Regions from separate parts of the Homo sapiens genome. Here region 1 is linked to region 2. The links are contacts of gene promoters, found by promoter capture Hi-C in blood cells and fetal thymus (Javierre and others, 2016). All regions are on one chromosome and are shown on one strand. Each heading gives the region's core, a stretch centred on a gene start or on the middle of the fragment in contact. The rest is flanking DNA. Distances are from core to core; before and after follow the strand shown.

Region 1 (5,775 bases), core at 303-2,802, 98 kb after region 2:
TTACTGCAGATTCTGCCAAGAGCCTTACCCTCTCTAAGCTTCATTCAGTCCTGTATCGTGGGCATGGTAATAGTACTGAATGCAGAGTTGCTGAGGATTAAATGCACGTTAAGTACATAGTACAGTTCCCAGCACACAGTGATCATATATGTGATAGCCCTTTTTGCAGTTATTTTTATCAAATGGCAATCAGAGAAGCCTTCCAGGACAACTTTATCTAAAATAGCACTCCCTCCTCTGCTTTATTTTTATACAAAATTTTATATAGCATTCCCTTAGTCTGCTTTATCCTTCCTCATAGTATTTATCACCAGCTGACATATATATTCCTGTCAGCCCCACTAAAATGTCAGTTCAGTGGCCGGGTGTGGTAGCTCACGACCGTAATCCCAGCACTTTGGGAGGCCGAGGCAGATGGATCACCTGAGAGGTCAGAAGTTCGAGACCAGCCTGGCCAACATGGTAAAACCCCATCTCTACTAAAAAAAAAATACAAAAAAATTAGCCAGGCATGGTGGCGCACACCTGTAATCCCAGTTACTCGGGAGGCTGAGGCAGGAGAATCACTTGAACCTTGGAGGTGGAGGCTGCAGTGAGCCAAGATTGCACCACTGCACTCCAGCTTGGGCGACAAAGCCAGACTCTGTTTCAAACAACAACAACAACTACAACAAACAGTTCGGTGAAAGCTAAGATTTTGGCTGTTTTGTTCATTTTTGTATCCCCAGTGCCTGTAAGCATGTTTTGCACATAATGGGGGCTCAAACGTTTGTTGCAGAAGTGCCTCTTACAACACGTGCCACTTACAACACAGTGCAGTGCTTGCTTAGAGAAAGTATTCAATAAACCCCAGGCTTCTTAGGCTTCATTTTGCCCCTCTTTTATTTATGCACAATTAAGAATATATTTTTTCTGGGATGTTTTTAGAATCAGACCTTGTCTGGGGTAAACAGTTCTGGAAGCCTCCAGCTGAGCGATGCCCTTGAAGTAAAGTTAGGATCATCCAAGAGAAAATGTGGGCCTCTGTGTCTAAGCTTGGTTATATTCCAGGAGAACCTTCTGACTTGGAACTCTTGGCTTCTCACAAAGGATAAATATCAGTGGAAGTGGATGGGACAAGGAGGGGGCAGGCCCCGGCCTGACCTCTTTCCTTTTGCATTGCTCCTTTTGGTTGACCCACTTCGTAAATCAAACAGCTTCTTTTTACCATCCAGCTCGAAGTTTGACTGCAGTGTCCTTGAAACTGTGGAGCTATGCTTAGCGTCGCTGGATTGAAATCATAGCATGGAGCACATTCAAGGAGGACTTGTTGCTCGGTGGTAGCTGCTGACAGAGATGTTCTTTTTCAAATGATTTTGTGTTGTTGTGTCTGTTCTTTGGATAAGTGTCTTCGCCTTCCTCCTCTCTTCATGCGGCTGTGGAGCCAGCACCACTCGGAAAGCTGGCAGTTCTGGGCATGTATTTCTAGGCTGCTGAGCAACGTGGGACTGCCTCTGTGTTCTGATGTGCTAGCTGTCCAAATGTTGATGACAGATGCCTTAGGCAGGAGAATGGGAAGAGTGACCTCCTGCTGCAGAAGTAAGGACATTCAATAGTGACTTTTTTCCCCTGGAAAATTGCAAAAGGGGAATGGGGCTGTTTGGAGAGCTCGAGGCATTTAGATGAAGTGAAATGCTGCCTTGGCAAAATGACGGAAGGAAGATTACTGAGAACTTGGCTGAAACTAGGTGATCAGTCATTCCCCAAACAGAGGGAGAGACATCCCCACCCTTTATGCTATGGGATAGGACAGTTTGCCATAGTCCTTAGGGATATACACAGCAGGGAGGTTTTGACAGTTAAGATAACAGTAAGGTCAGCAAGAGAGCCAGCTGGCCCACCCCCTCACTCTTGCCCCAGGAGCTCAATTAAAACTCTGCTGGGTAGAATCCTGACTTCACATCTGGCCTCCATTCCTTTCCGCATTGAACTGTGTGCCTAAGACAGGGTAGCACACACAACTTGCACATGTAAACCATCTTTGTTTGTCATTTAGGGGACATGATGGCAGGAAGTGTGCAGCCGCTCTTGATAAGCTTGTATTCTGGTGTAGGTCTGTAGATAAGGCATGCAGTAACCTCTCAACCCAGAAACATAAAGCAATTCTGGACTGGAGAACATCTCCAGAAGCCGGTGAGAGTCTGCCTGTCTAATATTTCTGTCTCCAGACAAAGTTGAATCAGAGAAAGTTATCAATAATCCCCTGTCCTCCACCAGTCAGTCGCCAAGCATTGGCAGTCTATGTATTGAGAATCAGGTTCCAGATTCTATGGAAAGGATGTAATATAGTACTCAGTCCTCTACTAAGCTATTTAACCAGATCTCTGGGGACATCCACCCAAGCAAAGCAATGCCTTTCCAAGCCTAGACTCTTTTTTTTTTTTTTGAGACGCAGTCTCGCACTGTCGCCCAGGCTGGAGTGCAGTGGCGCGATCTTGGCTCACTGCAAGCTCCACCTCCCAGGTTCACGCCATTCTCCTGCTTCAGCCTCCCGAGTAGCTGGGACTATAGGCGCCCGCCACAATGCCTGGCTAATTTTTTGTATTTTTAGTAGAGACGGGGTTTCACCGTGTTAGCCAGGATGGTCTTGATCTCCTGACCTTGTAATCTGCCCGCCTCAGCCTCCCAAAGTGCTGGGATTACAGGCGCGAGCCACCGTGCCCGGCCTAGACTCTTTTTCTTAACTGTTACTGTTTTCCTCAATATCCTGCAACCTTCAAGGTTGGGACATTTTTGTTAAACCTGATTTCCATGAATTACACTCATTTTCTGTGGTCAGTGGGCAGTCATCTTGAAACCTGGTCTTCAGCCCCACTCCCTTCGACACCTACTTTTTACTACTATCTGTCTCAGTCTTCTCTTTCCTGGATTGAAGACAGAACAAAAGTGATCAGGTTAATAAGTCAACTCTCAAAGCATTTCTTGAATTCACACAGAGTATAGTAAGATACAAAAACGTGACTTGGTAGAAGACTTGGATCCTGTCCACAGCTCACGGCCATTTGCTCTCTCCAGTTCTTTTGCCATTCTCCTCCGAACCAACCAGTCCTTGACTTGAGACTGGGCTTCTCTTATCTATAGGAAGCTCTTCTAGGGGGTAATGGAAAAAGGGTTTTGAGGCTCTTTGTTCTTACTAAGGGCGGGAATAGTAAAGGGAGGAGAGAAAAGAGGGATGGAATTGTAGTGACCCAAGAGAGCCCCTGGAGATTTTGTCCAGTGGCTAGACAGCCTGAGGTTGTACGTGCTACGTGTGGGTAGGATTTTGTGTTCTGTTTGAGGAAAGATCTAGAACTAGGCACAGAGGACACAGTGGTGATACAGTCTAGTAGTAGGGAGAGACATTAATCAAGTAATTATTTATTAATGTGTGTGTGTGTGTGTGTGTGTGTGTGTGTGTGTGTGTGTGTGTGATTGCAAGCCATGATAAGGACTGTAGTGAAAACTTTAACATGCCGTGGGCACATATAACAAGAGTTGTTTTGAGCATATGTTCTCAGGATCTCCTGAGGGCTGTGTCATGGAAAAAAAATTGCTTTTACGAGACAAAACTTTTATAAGACAAAAATATCTAGTTGATTGAGAGAGACGTAAATCATGTCAGAAAGCTAAACTGGCATTGCTGCAGAAAGATGAGATAGAGTTGAACCAGCAGGTAGAGTTTGGTGATGGTGAGAATTGGGAGACTCTGGAATGGGGCCATTCTTATGGTGAAGCATTTGGTCAACAATTGAGGGCAAGAAGCCTGAGGATGGGGTGGAAACTCCAGGCTTAATTCCAAAAGGATTTCTTCTGAATCTTCCTGTGGGAGGGGAAAAAAAATGGTTTATTTGTTTGTCTCAAAAGTTAAGAGCATGTATATGGAAAGAGCTTATGACTCATATAATCCTCATTTTTACTTACTGGGGGAGGGACTCTGGGTCCTGGGTCTGTAGTTTAGATGTGGCTCCTCAGAATGGGGTATATGAGAGAGGAGGGTGTATCCCTAGATGTTATTAGCCTAAGGGGTGCCTGGAGTTTGGAAGGTAGGTGAGTCTCACGGAAATAAGAACAAGTAGGCCCAGCCCTCAGCTTAGCTGCATGGTCTGTGGGAAGTGGGATTCTTTCTAACATTGGATAGATAGTGTATATAAATAGACAAGACTCTCCATTTACATTGTATACAAGTAAAGGATGAGTGGGGTGTGGAGGGGGAGTGTTACTGATTTTGCGTGTTTGAAAGGAAACAGGGTTGGGGAAGCCACAAGTCTTGGGCTTCCTGAAGGAGCCAGGCTCTGGGACCAGCTTGAATGTCGGGAGGATGGCAGCGTAGAAGACGGTGAGGTGGGCTGTGAGGAGAGTTTGGTGGCACAGCCTGTGGGAGGAGCCTGGGTGGCTGGAGAGAGATGAATGGAGGAAATGGGGACGAGCTGCCTAAGAAACGTGGTGATAGTTGGCGAGGGAGGAGACAGGAAGACCTTTGACAGAGGAGATAGCTGAGACCTCAGGTTCATCCACAGCAGGTAAATTCCAGGGCCACACGGGACAGGCGACGTGGGGAGTGTCTGTGGTCACAACTGGGGGCCCCAGCACTTAGAGCCTGTGACTCAGTATGTACACGTAGCACCAAATGCTTTTTGGTTCTGTCTTGGGCATCTCCGCACGGGCACTTCCGCCAGTGGTTTCTTCCATTGCCTTTGGGATGAGCAGGCCTCCTGAAAGCAGGCCTGATATTCTCTGGTCTTCTGACAAAGAATGGGAAATTTCTCACACCGTCTTGTTCCAGGAACCACCTGGGGATGGGATTTGAAGGGCTTGGGTTGCCGAATTGCTCCTAGAACCACAGGCTTAGAGGAGTTTTCTATGAACAGCGGTCCTGGCAGGGACAGACTGAGGATCGGTAGGGCTGAATGAAGACAATCCCACCTCCTTCAAGAGCCACCTCAACTTATGTTTTTTTCCCACAAAGCCCCCCCTCCGATTTTGCCAGCCTTTACTGATCACATCATCCACTTTCTCACAGACCTTACAATTTAGCATTGGCTTATATATTGCCTTATATTGAATAATGTTTTATGGTCTTGTTTTTCCTACCACTTCCTTATGTGTAGAGACTGTGATCCATATTTCCTCTTGATCCCTGTAAAGATGCTGAGCACACAGTAGGGGTTCAGAAATTACTTGGTAAGAGACATGGATCTAAGTATGTCTGTGACTGGACCTTTCCTACTAGATTCAATCCACAATTAGTACAGGGTGCCCAGTATATGCTGGGCACGGTGGGATACAAAGCAGTACAGGTGCTGACTCTGGTTCTCAGCCAGGGCACCGCTGGCCTCCAGGGGGTGTTCGGAAATGCTGAGGAGGGAGGATTAACTGTCTTGGGAGCACCGGGCACGGTGGCTCACGCCTGTAATCCCAGCACTTTGGGAGGCCGAGGCGGGCGGATCACGAGGTCAGGAGATCGAGACCATCCTGGCTAACACGGTGAAACCCCGTCTCTACTAAAAATACAAAAAAAAATTAGCCGGGCGCGGTGGTGGGCGCCTGTAGTCCCAGCTACTTGGGAGGCTGAGGCAGGAGAATGGCATGAACCCGGGAGGCGGAGCTTGTAGTGAGCCTAGACCACGCCACTGCACTCCAGCCTGGGCGACAGAGCGAGACTCTGTCCAAAAAAAAAAAAAAACTGCCTTGGGAGCACTAACGGCATTTAGCACATGGGGATTGGGGATGTTAACCATCTGGCAGAGTCTGGGACAG
Region 2 (5,514 bases), core at 2,734-5,233:
GATCACCTGAGGTCGGGAGTTCGAGACCAGTCTGACCAACATGGAGAAACCCAGTCTCTACTAAAAATACAAAATTAGCCAGGCATGGTGTCATGTGCCTGTAATCCCAGCTACATGGGAGGCTGAGGCAGAATCGCCTGAACCCAGGAGGTGGAGGTTGCAGTGAGCCAAGATTGCACAACTGCATTCCAGCCTGGGCAACAAGAGCGAAACTCCATCTCAAAAAAAAAAAAGAAGTATGATTGGACAAAAAGGGTATGATCTAATGGCAATAAATGGGGGGTGGGGGACCAGCAAGGCCTGTCCAGATTCTTCTTGGCCTCCAAGTATAGGGCAGGACCCATCTGAAATGAGAGCCTATGACCTACTTCCACGTGAAGTTAGAGAATTCCTTTATGGCCAGCTCTCACAGAAAAACAGAGCAGAGTGAGCTACTTACTTCTGCTGTTTTCGTAATTACCAAGGTGCCATGTTTTGGAGTGTCATGTTCTGAGCTCCAACAGAGGGAAGAGTGAGTCAGGGAGGTTATCACGCTGAAGGCCAGAAGAGGAAGGCAGATGACAGACGGAAAAGGTAGGGGACAAGGAAGTGAGCGAACCACGAGACAAGTGGGTGTCATGAACTGGGAAATCAGAAGACCAGGGTTGGATTCCAAGCTCTGCTGTAAAGTAGCTGTGTAACCTCAAGTAGCTGTGTAACCTCACCCCTTGTCCCTAACCTCTCCGGAAGTGATATCTTCCAGCTGTAAAATGAGGATAATTGTAGTACCAAGGGCCAGGGTTCCTGGGAGGATGAAAGGAAATCATAGAGGTCTAGGCAGACTTAAAGGCAGTATGGATGACACAGATCCTACAAAACTTTAGCTAGGACATGGAAGAACCTTTTGTATTTTAATGGTTGTATATTTATTTTAAGAGAAAAATATAACCAATGCATCAAACTTGTGACTTCACAGATATTATTGCTTAGGATAATTTACTATTTAAGTTTTCTTTCTTTTTTTTTGTTGCCCAGGCTGGAGTGCAATGGCCTGATCTCGGCTCACTGCAACCTCCGCCTCCAGGTTCAAGTGATTCTCCTGCCTCAACCTCCTGAGTAGCTGGAATTACAGGCACATGCCACCATGCCTGGCTAATTTTGTATTTTTAGTAGAGATGGGGTTTTACCATGTTGGTCAGGCTGGTCTCAAACTCCTGACCTCAGGTGATCCACCGGCCTCAACCTCCCAAAGAGCTAGGATTACAGGAGTGAGCCACCGTCCTGGCCTCTACTTAAGTTTTCAAAACTAGTTTGTGCACACTTAAAAGTAATTCATTTCATTGTATGTAAATTTGAACTCAAAAGAAAAAAAAGCATTAAAATATTGAACTCTACTTAATATACATGCTGAAATGTCTTGGGATGAAGTGCAATGATGTCCACAATCTGCCTTGAAATGCATCAAGAGGCCGGGCACTGCGGTTCACACCTGTAATCCCAGCACTTTGGGAGGCTGAGGCAGGTGGATCACCTGAGGTCAGGAGTTTGAGACCAGCCTGACCAACACGGTGAAACCCCATCTCTACTAAAAAAATACAAAAATTAGCTGGGCATGGTGGCGGGCACCTGCAATCCCAGCTACTCGGAAGGCTGTGGCAGGAGAATTGCTTGAACCTGGGAGGCGGAGGCTGCAGTGAGCTGAGGGCACCATTGCACTCCAGCCTGGGCGACAGAGCAAGACTCCATTAAAAAAAAAAAAAAAAAAAAAAAAGAAATGCATCAAGAAATAAGGTGATGGATGATGGATAGAAGAATGAATAGATGGATACTTAATAAAGCAAATATCGTGTAATTGCTGTAAAATTGATAGTGTAAAATATATGTTTATGTAAATATGTAAAATATACATATATAAATAAAATTGTAGAATCTAGGTGGAGGCACTGGATATTCAGTGTGCCATTCTTTCAACTTTTGTATATGTGTAAATTTTCATAATAAAATATTGGAAAAGAAAAATAGGCCAGGTGTGGTGGCTCACGCCTGTAATCCTAGCACTTTTGGAGGCCGAGGCGGGTGGATCACAAGGCCAGGAGTTCGAGACCAGCCTGGCCAACATGGTGAAACCCTGTCTCTACTAAAAATACAAAAATTAGCCAGGCTTGGTGGTGCGCGCCTGTAATCCCAGCTACTCAGGAGGCTGAGGCAGGAGAATCTCTTGAACCTGGGAGGCAGAGGTTGCAGTGAGCCAAGATCGTGCCACTGCACTCCAGCCTGGGTGACAGAGTGAGACTCCATCTCAAAAAAATAAAATAAAATAGTACTTTGATTTCAAGAAAAATATTAATAAGTAGACAATAGCACACGTGGTAGAATGAATTGGCAAAACTCATGAAGGTGATGGTGAATGATCACCCCGTTTGGCAAACAGGGACTCGAGTCTAAGTACTTTGGACAGGATCAGAAGAAGGTTCTAGGAATGTGCGGCCCCAGGGGAAAAGGCTCAGGTAAAGAAAACTGTCAGGTGGAAGCTGCTAAGCCCTGGAGGCAGAGCCTGAAGAGCAGTGGAAAAGTCTCACCTTTGAGATCAAGACAGCTCATCAATTCCTGAACCCATGGGTCCTTGTTGCCCCCACACACGCTCCAGGAAAGGAGCTGGAACCTGCGGAGGAGAGACCTGGGCTTAGCTGCGGCGCCTTCTTTCCTTCCCCGGCTCCTTCCTCATTCCAGAGGCGTGAAGTTGCCACCAAGAAAGAGCCCTTTCTCCTGGGACTGGGAAACTCCCCAGTAGGTGAGACGGAGTCATGAAGTTTCGGGGAATGAGAGCAAACGGAACCCGGAGATGGGGCTCGGTGAGCCGGGAAGGAGTTCAGGCTGGACCAGAGAGGGTCCTGGAGGCACCTGCAAGGAGGGGCCGCCCAGGCGCTGCCCTCGCAGAGGCAGGTAAAATTACCTCGTGTAGTATAGACACCGATGGTAAGCTCTCAGGTGTTTCCGGAGACGATTCATGAACTGAACCGATGGCGGGGAGTCGGAAGAAATTCTTTTACCACAATAACAACTTCCAGTGACGCTGCCCTCGTTGCCATTGCCTGCGCGGGACGGAGGTGGTCGGCACCCATTCCCAGGCCCAGGGTCCCCACTCCGCTGTTCCCTGGCATCCAATCCACAGCCCCATGACAGCCTCTCGGTGGACCCAGGGTCAGAGCGCCAGGCTCAACCCACACATCATCACGCCCCCGACAACATCCATAATCCCGCCCGGAGCCAGGCGTCCCCGGGCCTCTGTCCCCAACCCCAGGCGGCTGGCTGGCTTTCCTCTTGTCCCCGCTGCCTTCATCCACTCAACTCCGTGGGCCTCGTGTCCCCTCCCCAACTCACCCCCTTCCCGTGACAGGGGAATCTGGGTCCCCTGCCCCGCCCCCGGCTAACCTGGCTGAGTCAGGTACACCAGCAGGAGCAGAAGCAGGAGCAGGAGCACGCGGGACCCGGGCCGCAAGTCCCGTCCCATCTCGGGGCTCCGCGGACTCTGCGGGGATGGAGCCACCTCGCTCTGACTCCCAGACATGCTCCGGCGCGTGACGTCCAGCTGGTGTCTCAATGGCTTTCGCCGGGGACCGGAGGAGACGGCGGCCGGAGAGGAGGCGCGAGCCAGCTGCACCCCCCGGCCCTGCTGTGCCCCGACCGTGCGCTCAGTACTCGGCCCGCGCCATGCCAGCCTCTGGACGCAGGGAAAGCCGAGGAGGTGGAGCTCCCGCGCCCTGCGCCCCCGCACTGGGCCCGGCTCCGTCGAGGGAAGGCCAGGAATCTTGGAAGAAACCGAAAGAAAACTCCGGCGGCGGGCGAGGAGGGGCGGGAGGACGACGGCCCGAGGAGCCGATTCGGTTCGGTTCAGGAGGCCGCCCGCCTGGCCCGTCCGCCGACCTGTGAGGCGGCTGCACTGCCGGACCGGCCCTCCTCCTCCGAGGCACTTTCACTTCCCCGATCCGGGCGCCGCGGGACCCAGCCGCGCTGCATGAGCCTCCCGGGCGGCCCGGTGGAGAGAGTCGCCGCCAGCCCCGGCCGCGCGCACCTGCGGGGCAGCCACCCGCGGACGCACCGAGCCCGGGGGGCGTGGCCGCCCGCTGAGCCGGCGAGGGCTCGGGCAGCCCTGACGTCACAACCGCACCCGCGCACCCTCCACCGCGAGGTATTTACCTTCGAAAAGTGGTGGCGGCTGCAGGTACCGGAGGAGTGGGGCGGCCGGGAGGGGCTAGGTCTACCGGGGCTGCCCGCCACGCAGATCCGAGCCCAGGGAACCCCCTCGCTCCCACTCCCATACCCCACAGACGCATCCAAAATGCTTCCCTCCCCACCAAACCGTTCCCGATAGGATTAGCCCTCTCTCCTCTCTAGCCTTAATTTAAACTCTGCTTTTGAGGGTGTGAACTCTCCAATTTTAAGCCCCAAATACCATCTCATCCCTGAGTAGTCTTCTCCAACCCTGGTCACCCACTTTCAAGTCCAGCCCCCATTTTCCTCCCTAAACTCCCATCCTCAGCCCTGAAAAATCCTCTTCTCCGCTCCTAGCATATCCACGGATCCAACCCTAAGTGACTCTCAAACCTACCCTCTCCCTCAATTTGTGACCCAGCCCCAAACTCCATCATTGCTCTCCTGTCCCTCACCATATATCCCTTCTTTTGCTCAGTCTGGGCCGGGGCCCTGTGCCGCTGAAGACATGGAGTTTGTGTCTGGATACCGGGATGAGTTCCTTGATTTCACTGCCCTTCTCTTCGGCTGGTTCCGAAAGTTTGTGGCAGAGCGTGGAGCTGTAGGGACTAGCCTTGAGGGCCGCTGCCGGCAGCTGGAGGCCCAGATCAGAAGGCTACCCCAGGACCCTGCCCTTTGGGTGCTCCATGTCCTGCCCAACCATAGTGTGGGCATCAGCCTGGGGCAAGGGGCAGAACCAGGTCCTGGACCAGGCCTGGGGACTGCCTGGCTCCTGGGAGACAACCCTCCACTCCACCTGCGAGACCTGAGCCCCTACATCAGCTTTGTCAGCCTAGAGGATGGGGAGGAAGGGGAGGAGGAAGAGGAGGAAGATGAAGAAGAAGAGAAGAGAGAGGACGGGGGTGCAGGCAGCACAGAGAAGGTGGAACCAGAGGAGGACCGGGAGCTAGCCCCTACCAGCAGGGAGTCCCCCCAGGAAACAAACCCTCCAGGAGAGTCAGAGGAGGCTGCCCGGGAGGCAGGAGGTGGCAAGGATGGCTGCCGAGAGGACAGGGTGGAGAACGAAACAAGACCCCAGAAGAGGAAGGGACAGAGGAGTGGTAAGAACCCAGGGCTGGCCCTGCCCTACCCCTTGCCCAGCCATCCTCCCTTCGGAAGCCCTCCCCTGCCACTAGTTCTGAGTGCTGGCCTTCAGGCCAATCTGGCCTGAAAAGGTGTTTTTATTGACCCACAGTGGGGTTTTTTTTTTTAATTTAATGTTTAAACATTGCAAGAAAAAAAGTATCCAGAAGTCTGGATTTACACATTCCCAAGAAAAATCTC

What was found. Contacts are between HindIII fragments. The CHiCAGO score rates a contact against its expected background, and 5 or more counts as called.
Region 1: a contact is called between a fragment that was not itself captured here and the fragment with the promoter of ZMYND15 in region 2, in 14 of 17 cell types (erythroblasts, naive B cells, megakaryocytes and 11 more). The highest score is 10.0, in erythroblasts.

The regions. Positions count from the first base shown.
Region 1 is chr17:4,836,537-4,842,311 of GRCh38, forward strand. The region is part of intron 1 of MINK1 (misshapen like kinase 1); the gene reads left to right. Among named protein-coding and RNA genes, the nearest start is that of MINK1, 6.1 kb to the left of the region's middle. The HindIII fragment of the contact is 1,041 bases long and covers 1,033-2,073 here.
Region 2 is chr17:4,735,850-4,741,363 of GRCh38, forward strand. It overlaps ZMYND15 (zinc finger MYND-type containing 15), which reads left to right and starts at 3,984. Exons shown (of 14, transcript NM_001136046.3): 1 at 3,984-4,201; 2 at 4,670-5,291. The coding sequence starts at 4,700. CXCL16 (C-X-C motif chemokine ligand 16) reads right to left here and starts at 4,079. Exons shown (of 6, transcript NM_001386809.1): 1 at 3,412-4,079; 2 at 2,933-3,071; 3 at 2,559-2,641. The coding sequence starts at 3,490. RefSeq lists enhancers at 2,592-3,497, 3,498-4,402 and a silencer at 3,951-4,170. The HindIII fragment of the contact is 8,207 bases long and covers 1-5,514 here.